Linked DNA regions of Homo sapiens: region 2 is linked to region 1. The links are contacts of gene promoters, found by promoter capture Hi-C in blood cells and fetal thymus (Javierre and others, 2016). All regions are on one chromosome and are shown on one strand. Each heading gives the region's core, a stretch centred on a gene start or on the middle of the fragment in contact. The rest is flanking DNA. Distances are from core to core; before and after follow the strand shown. Region 1 holds the start of DLX6 (distal-less homeobox 6). Region 2 overlaps DYNC1I1 (dynein cytoplasmic 1 intermediate chain 1).

What was found. Contacts are between HindIII fragments. The CHiCAGO score rates a contact against its expected background, and 5 or more counts as called.
Region 2: a fragment that was not itself captured here is called in contact with the fragment with the promoter of DLX6 in region 1 in 8 of 17 cell types (naive B cells, non-activated CD4 T cells, endothelial precursors and 5 more); the score reaches 7.2 in naive B cells.

The regions. Positions count from the first base shown.
Region 1 is chr7:97,001,453-97,007,097 of GRCh38, forward strand. DLX6 (distal-less homeobox 6) reads left to right here and starts at 4,101. Exons shown (of 3, transcript NM_005222.4): 1 at 4,101-4,961. The coding sequence starts at 4,526. The region is part of intron 1 of DLX6-AS1 (DLX6 antisense RNA 1); the gene reads right to left. RefSeq lists enhancers at 79-788, 2,818-3,539 and a silencer at 4,852-4,951. The HindIII fragment of the contact is 12,379 bases long and covers 1,841-5,645 here.
Region 2 is chr7:95,993,238-95,998,882 of GRCh38, forward strand. DYNC1I1 (dynein cytoplasmic 1 intermediate chain 1) reads left to right here. Exons shown (of 17, transcript NM_001135556.2): 10 at 2,711-2,836. Among named protein-coding and RNA genes, the nearest start is that of DYNC1I1, 220 kb to the left of the region's middle. The HindIII fragment of the contact is 742 bases long and covers 2,284-3,025 here.

The DNA.
Region 1 (5,645 bases), core at 2,851-5,350:
TCAGGCACCCTTTCCTTACATACATACACAAACAGAGTTTTACAGTATATTGAATGAGGAAAAGACTAGCAAGTTTTTTTTTTCTTCACCAATGTCTCCCGTTGAGAAGGGGCTATGTAAGTCAATACTGAGTAATTTCTTTGAATTCAAAGGCTATTTATCCAGGTCTAATTTCTTTAGAATTAAAGTGATAACTGAGCTCAACTTAGCAACCAAACCCATCCAGGTCCTGCCTGGTTTGAATGTACTTCTACAGCCCGTGAGGCTGCAAAACCACTTCGGGCACCCCAAAGCATTTCCAGGCCTACATGCGTGAGCAAACACCGGTCCAGACCAGGAACAGCAGGAGATTCTTTGACCCAAGAGCCCATTCCTCCAACAGTGGCCTCCGGCAGACCCGGGAGGTCTTGTGTTGGCAATACACAAGCATTTCTCTCTAAATAACATTGACACTCGCAATACAAATTCCAACATCTCAACACCTTAAAAAGCAAAAAGCAGCTTAGGCCTCAAATCCTGCCTAGTGAATATGACCCTCACTTACTACAAGCCCTAAAAGAGCCTTAGGGCTCCTACTCCAGATTGCAGGGTTTACTTTTATTTTGAATGATAAAGACTTCGAGGGCCTTGCCCGCCCTCCTCCTCCCACCCGCAAGGGTTGGCCCGCGTTCCCCTGCGGGCGAGACAAAGAAGCAGGAGCCAGGACCCGGCTGGCGCCTAACCCGGCGCCGGGGCCTTGAGCCCCTGAGGTGTGCGCCTTCCTGCAAGGCCCCAAAGAACCCGAGTTTTTGCCCCTTGCTGAAGGGTTGGAAGTGCGGGCTGGACTAGTGCAAACAAGAGTGACTCCAACCGCCTTACTTCAGCTCATTACCGTCACCCATGAAAACGGAATGAAGGACTGGGAAGCCAATCTGCCGCGTTCAATTGGAGAGAAATGACTGTCGGAAGAGGCCCTGCGGTAAATAGCCTCTGAGCCGCGAACTCTATGCGCCGTGGCCGGTGGCAGAGGCCACACCTGGCAGCCACTCGTGGCGCGCCACCTTGGCATGTTGTGTGCGGGTCACACTATCTCCAGTTTTCCATTCTCGATACTGGCAGGAAAGTCTGATAGTCAGGCCTGAAGTTTAGATTCCATCCCGCAAGCGCAGAGATATCACACCAAGTGGGACCTCTCGCTCGTTCCACTTCCCAGCCCCTGACTGTCTCTGAGCTCAGACTGGGTCGCCCAGCAGGTTTCAGCAGGACCTTTACCATGCACCACAACTACCACCTCAGTGCAGCTGCTTCACTGGAACAGAGTGCAAGGATTTTAGCCACTAACTATTAGGGGAAGGTTGAGAGCCCTGAAGCTACAACCCGGACAATCCCAGCCTTCCCGGCTTCCTCAGCAATCAAACAAATGAGAAAAAAAAATCCCCTTGCAAGTAGAGGCAGCTGCACTCTGGATACAGTGCTCAATTGCAGGGACCTTCCGAGGCCCTGCCACGACATACTCTAATTGGGGTGCAGCCAGAGTTGCAGGAAGCTGGCGAGGAAAGCGGTGCACCTGTGAGCATAAAGCGAAAAACATAGACAAGCACAGGGTGAGGGTGTAGGGGGTGAAACGCCTTCACGGTGTTAACAACAAGCTGCAGGGTATAAAGCAATAAAACTGCCACGTCTACCTGCTGGTATTGAGGACATTACAAACAGTCTCGGCGCGCAGCCCGCGTGTACCGAGAGCGCACTAGGGTTGGGAGTGGGAAGGTGGGGTGGGAAATCTTCTCTTTTCCTGACATTCCCTTCTGTCCCCCACCCCCCACATCTCCCCCTTACTTAGCCCACCTTTCTTTTTCCATGAAGCTTTTCTGTTGTTGTTTTAATTCATTGCCGATTTGTAAACGTGTAGATCGTGTTACTGGTTCGCGTGTTAAAGTGCACCTCTTGTTAAAAGGTGGGGAACAGGGCACGCCACTTAAAAATGAATTCAGAGTTACTGAACCGGCTCCCCAGACTCAAGAACTTAAGCGCAACGGGCTGGGAAAAGGAGGGGGAGAGGAGCGCAAACGCCGCTGACCTGGGAACTCGGAGGAAACTCGCGGGCAGCGAGCTTCAGGTCTTCTGATACATTGAAGGAAAGAAAGAAAGACAGAAAAAGAAAAAAACAAACTGTCCTGGAGATAGCTAGACATCCAGGGCTGGGAGCTGGGAAAATCAATTGGCATAAGCCGCTGCCGGCGGGCTTCGCGCAACGTAAAAAATAAAGTCCAAGCTGCTCCATCTGCAGCCACCCTTTTCTGGAGTTAAAGGGGCAAGCGGCACCTTTTCTCTATTTCTCAGTTTCCTTCGGTCCTGTAACTTATGGAGTCCAGAAGAAGTAGGATATACAGAAGTCCTCAGTAGTTTTCCCAAAGGGAGACACTGTCTCCTTCCCGCAACCTCCAGACACTGCAGTACAGGGTTGTTAGATATTAGATAGTACGTTTCTCCGTGTGGGCAAAGGCTCGCGGCTTAGGTCTCTAAGCAGATCGAAAGTCGGGGTCCAGACCGAGAGGATCTTCAGGTCTCGTCCACCCAATCTCAAGCCTCTGGAAGGGCGGGCTGCCGGCGACCTCCTCCAGTCCCGGGACCCGGAACCCGGGACCCTGGACGCCGGTGCGGGCGGGCCTGCCCTCCTCTGTGCCTGGCCCCCAGTCTGGCCCTCCTACCTGTTGACCAGGCCTGAACCACGCACCGGGGCTCCGCTGTCTCTGCTTGGCTGCCTTAACCTGCGTGGGTCTGGAGACCGGAGGGAGAAAGGCTAGATCCGCAGCCTTGGGCTGCTCCGAACTTAATGTCTTTCCCCAGTCCATCTTTGAAAGAGAAGTGGTTCTACCACCTGGATGTGCGGATATAAATCCCCTTGCAAATAATAAATGGATTAATAATAACAAGGTATGAAGTTCTTTTTATAGAAAAAAAGGAGAGAATTGAAACTAAATGCGGCAGTTAGACAACCATTTTGATAAGAGGATAATTGAGGCGACACTGGTGTATAATTAGAGGATAATTTATGCTATATCCACTTTTATTCCACCTCCCAAAATAAACCCAGTCCATAATCATTACAGGCAAATTGTTCTGAATTTTATAGCAGCAATTTGAACAAAGTACTGCAGTTAATCATGGGAGATTTTTGTGTATTCCTGATTAGAACTCTAATTGCCTCCTTCCAGAAAGTAAAAATAACTGTAAAACGACTCTATTTTTATCATTAACAATGTTGACAATAAAATAAAATCAATTGGAATTGTAATCGAGAGACAAATTTAGGACGAAGGCACTTTTACTTGGGTAGTTTATATTGTAATCAAGATTTGCCAAACCACTAACCGCATGTATCATTTGCATATATTTGAAAGCATTACAGTAGCTTCTGTTTTCAATAGGAAAAAATGCATTACTGTCAGTCCTCCAACGATTCGTTTTCAGAACACGCTGCTGCGTTCTGAAAAGAAAAAAAAGACGCCCCCCCCCCCCACAACCTTTTGTACAATATATAAGAAATACGGCCTGAAACGGCAGGGACCGAGCCAGAACAGGGTCTGATTTTTCTTTTTCTGTACCACCCCCCAGTGGGGTGGAGCCCAGGTGTGAGGGTTCGTCTTCCTTCTGTGGTTTCAATAAAATACGTCTAGAAAAATCCACGGTGACAAGGAGCTCCCACAAGAGTGTAGTAGGACCAGAGTGGCAGGGACGTCAAGAAAGGGGGGCCTGGATTTAATGCGGGGGTGGGGTCACTGCTTCTAAGCACAGGCAACCTACAAGGGTGCAAAGGGATTGAAAGAGAGCAGCCCCCAGTTGGCTGTTTCAAGGCTGAGATATTGGCAACTGGGGCTCCGGGATTTGGGGCACGAGCTGCGGCGGGAAGCATCGGCGGCCGGCCGGGCAGAGGCGCCTCCCTCCCCAACGGCCCCGGGCGCCACACAGCGCGGCCCCCGGCTGCAGCTCCGGCTGGGATTGGAACTGCGGAAGGTAGGCGAAGAACTCTGCAAGTCGCGCACACGCCAGTAGAAGCCGTGCGCCTGTGACGTCAGGGGGCGACTGACCAATGGGGAGGCACTGCCCTTTGGAGACAAACCATTCGACTCGTGGCGTCTGCATCAAGTCTGAAAGCAGACGCGCAACTTTCGCAGAATCCACCTTAAAATCTCTGCCTTAAACTGCACCAGCCCCCAAAAAATCCAAGGGGGGAAAGCAGGCGGGGGGAGAGCAGATTCCCCCCTCCCCCTCTCCTCTCCCATCCCTCCTCCTTCCTCCTCCCTTTGAGTTAACAAGGCCCCGCTCACTATATCTCTTTATATTAAATATATATATATATTAGAGAAGAGCGAGGGAGAGGGAGAACCACCTCCACCCCCCTCTTTAAATTCTTTTTTTTTTTTTTTTTTTTTTTTGCAAGGATCCAAAGAGCTAAGGTGGCTGCAGAGGGGAGAGCGGCGCGAGCCAAGTGGGGGAGGGTGGAGGAAACCCGGGAGAAGGCTTTCTCCAGCCCCCAAAGTTTTTGATGATGACCATGACTACGATGGCTGACGGCTTGGAAGGCCAGGACTCGTCCAAATCCGCCTTCATGGAGTTCGGGCAGCAGCAGCAGCAGCAGCAGCAACAGCAGCAGCAGCAGCAGCAGCAACAGCAACAGCCGCCGCCGCCGCCGCCGCCGCCGCCGCAGCCGCACTCGCAGCAGAGCTCCCCGGCCATGGCAGGCGCGCACTACCCTCTGCACTGCCTGCACTCGGCGGCGGCGGCGGCAGCGGCCGGCTCGCACCACCACCACCACCACCAGCACCACCACCACGGCTCGCCCTACGCGTCGGGCGGAGGGAACTCCTACAACCACCGCTCGCTCGCCGCCTACCCCTACATGAGCCACTCGCAGCACAGCCCTTACCTCCAGTCCTACCACAACAGCAGCGCAGCCGCCCAGACGCGAGGGGACGACACAGGTGAGAGGCCGCTGGGGCAGCTCGCTTCTCCCGCCTCCCGACTGCCCCCTACCCCGCCCGCCCGCTCACTTCCTCGACGCCCGGGCCTCCGCCGGCCCCCTCCCCCAGGCGGCCCCGCGCGCCCTTGGCCGGGCCCCGTGCGCGCCCGCTCGCCTGGCGCCTGCCTGCCGGCCTCTCCCAGCCGGGCCCCTTCCCGCCGCCGCGGACCCTCAGCTTCCGACGCGCAGTTCGGGCTGAGTCCCGGGCCCGGCGCAGGCTTCGTTCGACGAGTTAGTCCACACTGCGCTCTCCAGCCTCCTGGGTCTGTGCGCCCTTTTCCTTGCTCCTTCCCTCCAGGCTGTAACCCACGTTTGACCCGGCTGGGGACATTTCTGGGCCGGAACTGGGGAGCGTGTTTTGCTTCCCAGCCCACGCTGGGCAGGCAGTGGCCTACTTTGCGTGGGGCGCCCCGTGCTCCTCAGTGACTCGGAGGGAAGCTGGCCTGGCTTTCGCTCTGGTTAAACTAGTAACAGTCAGGCTCTTTCCAGTGGGCTTTAAAGTGTCCCTCACCTTCATCCCTGACCGGGCCCCCTATCTAGCTTTTCGCTACAGTGTTGGCTGCTCCTTTGTTCGTGGAGGGGAAGCAAAGAACCTCGGGCTGATGGTTCTCAGCACCCGAGGGGGACAAAGTTGCCGTGAGAGGCG
Region 2 (5,645 bases), core at 1,405-3,904, 1.0 Mb before region 1:
TAGGCCTTATGATCTCAGTTATAGAAATTATGCCAATGACATTTCACTGGTAATTTTACTAAAGCACTCCCTGTTTTCTAAAGGAGTTTTAAAGCTAAATAATTTTAAATATTTTTAAATGGAAAAAGAAAAGCTGCAAGTGGGTACCAACAATGAGACCCAGCTGGGTGATATTATTGCAGAAACATCTAGCTGCTCCTTAGCCCCTGTGGTGGTGGTGTTGATGTTTATAGAGTTGCCTTTTCACATGTGACATAGTTAAACTTCAGATGGACAGTCTGGAGACTTCTGTGTTTATCTGGATGTTAGTTTCTTTGAATGGGCTTTGAATCAAAGGCTTTCTTAATAGGCCTTTGATTCATCCGCTGCAGAGTGTTTTTTAATAAAGAATGATTACTTCCCCTGGTGGCCACATACATGTGTGTCACTGTACGCTTATACTTCCTCTGCACAACCAGCACATTGTAACTCTCTGCAGATTTCTTTAGTTGAGGCTGCTGGAAGAATGAATAAGACTTAGATGTAGTTATTTTTAATAGAAAAAAAAGATCTGTGTTCAAATTCATAAAGGCAATCTTCCATTAAATATATGTATAGAATAATGAAAAAGGAGGAAAAAATTAAATTATAAGAAGAGAGTGATACGGTCTGCCATAATCCTGATACTATTTTTAATAGGACTGCCTTTTGAGACTCCTATGTAGGAATGACATTTTCATGAAATGTGTCCTAACTCATAAGTACTTCCTATGAGATTTATCCTCAGTTTATTTAGTAACACTCAGGACAGAGTTTTTGTAGGGTGAGTAGGTCTTTCTAATACCTAGAATCACTATAGAGTCCTTCTTGTTATTTTACTGGTTATGTTTCTGGCATTTAAGCCTTTAATTATTAGCATTGTTTGACAACAAAGGATGATATATAAAGCCTTTCTATTGAGCACAGAATTACTAAAATTAAAAATTTTAAATAATTAAAGAAATTTTGGCACAAGTTTATTATATGCTAGGAATTGACCCTGGATTCAGAGGTCAACAAAAACCAGTCCCTACTCTCAAAGAGCTTGCAATCGAGTGAAAGACACAGGTGTAGAAAAAAAATTATAATGCATTTGACAAGGGCTTTAATTGGCAGGACAGACACATGATACAAAGGGAGCTGATAACAGGCAAGGAAGGAAGTGGTTGGTTAAGTCAGGATTGTCTGGAGGACTTGATGCCTGTGTTGAGTCTTAAAGGATGAGTTAATTATGTAAACAACACCAAAGGGTCATCCCAGTGAGAGTGAGTATGAGACTCATAGGTACAGAGATGTACCTGTGTGCCTCAAAACTAGTCCAGTGAGGCTGGGTCATAGGCTGTGGGAGGTGGGGAGAAAGAGGGAAGGTTGTAGGAGAGTAAGCAGGAAAGGCAAAAAATGACAGATTATTAAGGATCCTCTGTGACCTGCATTTTGCCTTGAAAGTAATGATGAGCCATTAAAGTATTTTAAGCTGAGGAATGACTTAGCCAAATACATATTTTGTAAAGTCTTCCTGATAAAGGATGGAGAATGGAGTAGGTCAGTATAGGAAGCCATTTATGAAGCTGCTGCCTTCATCCAGATAAGAAATTAATTTAGCAGGCTCTGACCTTAAAGATAGAAAGAAAATATTCATTTGAAAGGTATTGAGGAAATAGGGAAATTTAGTGTGTGGGAGTGAGAGAGAGAAAGAAGTAAAAATAAATGGGCCAGGCATGGTGGCTCACGCCTGTAATCCCAGCACTTTGAGAGGCCGAGGCTGGTGGATCACGAGGTCAGGAGATCGAGACCATCCTGGCTAACACGGTGAAACCCCGTCTCTACTAAAAATACAAAAAATTAGCCAGGCGTGGTGGCCGGCGCCTGTAGTCCCAGCTACTCAGGAGGCTGAGGCAGGAGAATGGCGTGAACCCCTGAGGTGGAGCTTGTAGTGAGCCAAGATCAGGCCACTGCACTCCAGCCTGGGCAACAGAGCGAGACTCCATCTCAAAAAATAAATAAATAAATAAATAAATAAATAAATAAATAATGTAGAATGGCTGGCCTGGGCCAGGCGAATGTTAGTGCAAGACCCTAAAATAGGGAACATGGAGGAGCAGTAGGTTTCGTGTGGAAGTCAATGAGATCATTTTTCTATGTGTTACAATTGATGGGTCTATGGACAGCCCTGAGAAATCCCCAGTAGGCAGTCAGATATAAAGACCTGCATCTCAGAGAGAAATTAAGCCTAGAGATATAGATTTGAAAATTACCAGCATGTTAAGCTTATTAAAGCCACTGGAGTAGATGAACTTACTCAGCGAGAATAGCCCTCCTTGGAATTTATGTAATAGAAGGAGAACCTGCAGGAACTGAAAAGAGAAGTCAGGGAAGAAAATCAGGAGAGAAAGATGTAATGGAAGCCAATACAGGAGAGGAAGGGAGTAGCACAAAGTGTCAAATAATACGGAGAGGTAAAGCGATGTTTGTAGTTTGATAGTTACCGGTGAGTATGACAAGCGCATACAGAGTGTTGGAGGCAGAAACAAGATTGCAGGAGGTTGCAGCAGTAAGCTGATAGTAGGTATGCCACAACATAACAGAAAGCACCATTTACACTGTGTAGTATACCACGTGTATGTAGGAATAACAAAGTTTTCCTTGTGTTGTCATCTTAGCATAATTCATCCTTGTGACCTCTTCCATTTAGTACCCTGAGCTGATGGTGGCTTCTTACAACAACAATGAAGATGCTCCCCATGAACCAGATGGAGTGGCCTTGGTTTGGAACATGAAGTTTAAGAAAACCACACCAGAATACGTCTTCCACTGTCAGGTAGGAGTCAGCGTAGTAAAAATAACTTACATCTCCTGCTAGACCAAATATAGTTTGTGCTGCATTGCATCTGTCTTATGCTGAGAGGAAGAACTCAGTTTAAAAATGAAATTGTTGACAATTTTGGAAAATTCCCCCACAGTAACCTAATGTTTTGGGAAAGTGGCAACCCTCCCCAAACAGTTAGGAAGCTTGGTTAGGGACTGTGTGTCATTTTCTTTCTATTTAAAACAGCCCCCATGAGGATGAGTTTATAAAGACCTCGCACTTATGAAGAAATCGTGGTGTACCACTTCCTCTGCTTAAAAGCAACATATGCTTGCCCACCCACGTGGACATCCTCAGAGCACTACCATTTCAAGTCTCCTACTCTCTTGGAAATGCAGTTCAATGGATTTTGCTGACTTTAAGTTTATGGGCGCCATACTACTTAACAGATAATACTTTTGTAGCTGGCATGGGGCAAGACTTACCACTCGTATTTCTTGAGTTGCTGGGAAATATAGATGCTGTTTCTGGTTTGAAAATGCAGAGATAATTTCAAATATGTTTGTATTTTTCATTCCTTCTCTCTGCGGACACGTCTTCTCTTCCCCTTGACACAATACAGGCTGAAATTATGGTACCCTTGTACACGTTCAGCATTGCTCTGTTGCCATGACTCTGCCTAAATAATAGGCCTCAGCATAGGCCAATACACCAACCCCTTTATTAATGCTCCTATCCTGTGATTATGCACAGGCAAATAAAAAACAAACATTTCAGCTCAAAATTGCAGTTCCTCAAATGTTAACAATTCAGAGGTACTGAGTGGCAGATTACTCTGAATACAAAGACATCATTTGAAGAGGGTGGGTAAACCTGTTGATTTTTGGAAGCTTAGTGCCATTTTCTATCTAAGAGCCAAGTATCTTTTTGAACTAAAATATGTTTAGACTTTAGAGCATTATCAGATATAATTTGGGGAATAGGAGCTGCTGGAATAGAGTCCCAGCCTCAACCTGATTGAGTAACCTCTAACTCTGGCCATGTTTTTCTAATTTGCTGTCTCAAAAACAACTTAACAAGAAGTCTAGTTCTGTATGGTAAATAACCTTTATTTTCTTAGCCTTTGAAATAAGAACGGTTCTTTCTTTTTTTCTTTTATTTTTTTTAAGATTTTCAAGTCAGCTTGATATGCTCCTTCTGTAAACATAGAAGCACAAAATCCTAATTTTGTTCAGTTTTACAAGGTTTGCCGAATTCCCAGGAAAATACTGTAAGGATTAAGAAATAAAGAGAAGCACATTTTTGAAAAACAGTGCCTTTTAAATTATTTTGATATTACAGAAAGTCTTTGATTTTAAAAATCCAACAATAATACATTATTATAATCAATATGTATGATCTTTATCATGATTTTTAAATTTTAATTATATTAACTGACTACAGGTTTCTGGAATCAACTGTAAATTACTTGTTTTACCACACAACAATAGTTAATACTAGTATTAATTGAAAAGGGCATTCTTGTGTGTGTGTGTGTGTGTGTGTGTGTGTGTGTGTGTGTGTATCTTTGGGATCATTGACTAAACATTTCTCCAACAAACATTTTTTTTAGTTTCTCCCTTAATGATCCAATATATGTCATTGAGAAGAAAATATACTCGTGATTTTAAAAAAAAAGCAAGAGGTACCCTAAATATAGTAACAAGATAGTCATACCAGAGTTACCAAAAGATGCTGAGTAAAATAGTTGATTCCAAAAACTTGTAGTCAGCACTTTGATACAGGTGATACTCATGAAGTTGGGATAAAGGTCAGGTAAATATCACTGGCTGCCAAAGAAAAACAAAATTGCTATGATATTTAGTATTTCTGAACTGTTGGGAGACAAAATCAGGAAACTTTCAGCAGCCAGGGAAGTCCTAGATGAAATAGTGATGGAGGTTAGGTAGACAGATAACATAATAAAGGCAATTTGGTTACCTTTGTACTAAAGTGTAATACCTGTAGCAATATCTACGTGTTTCTGTATTTTAAATTTTCCCAACACTTCTGCCTTCATGATCTCATTGATTGTACAACAGGGAGGTAAGAAAAATGTTATTATTCTCTTTTTCCAGTTGAGAGATTTTATACTTTAGAGGTTACCCAGCTAGTGAGCAGTAGAGCCAATCCTGGAACTGAGGCTTATTCTATCGCATACATCGTGCCATCACCTAGGCTGCATTCTAAAAATGTGGGCAGACATGGGACTTGATAGCAAAGGCTGTACAGCCCATTCAAGGTATATTTTTGGCCACCTACCCTTATAAGGTATCGATTAGACATGGTTCTAGACGTGGCTATCTTTACCACCTTCTAACCCTAAATGGAAATTTAGAGATCCCACAGAATTAAAATGTATATGTGGAAAAACCAAAGCCTTCACTCACTGACCTATAACTTTTCTTCTATCCTATCTGATCTTTGCTAAATCTTATTTATTACAACTGGTCATTTCTAGACACTAACTCAGGGAAATCACGTCGTTTGAATGTGCTTCCGCATTCTCCTGTGATGTTCTGATAATTTCAAAATTAGACAATTCATTACTTAGAAAAAGGGCAGAGGTAGAGAGTAGCAAGAGTACCTTATGATGACTGTACTTTTATAATTTTGGAGTAATTGCGTAGCTATTCATTTCCTGCTGATCTCTGCTGATTCTTCATATTTTTTAAAAGTGTATAATTGTAAACAAAACCAATGGATCAGAGAAGCATTGTGTCAGTCAGTGGAAAGCAAATGCACAAGAAACAGACATCAGCTCCATGGTGTTTTGTAAAGA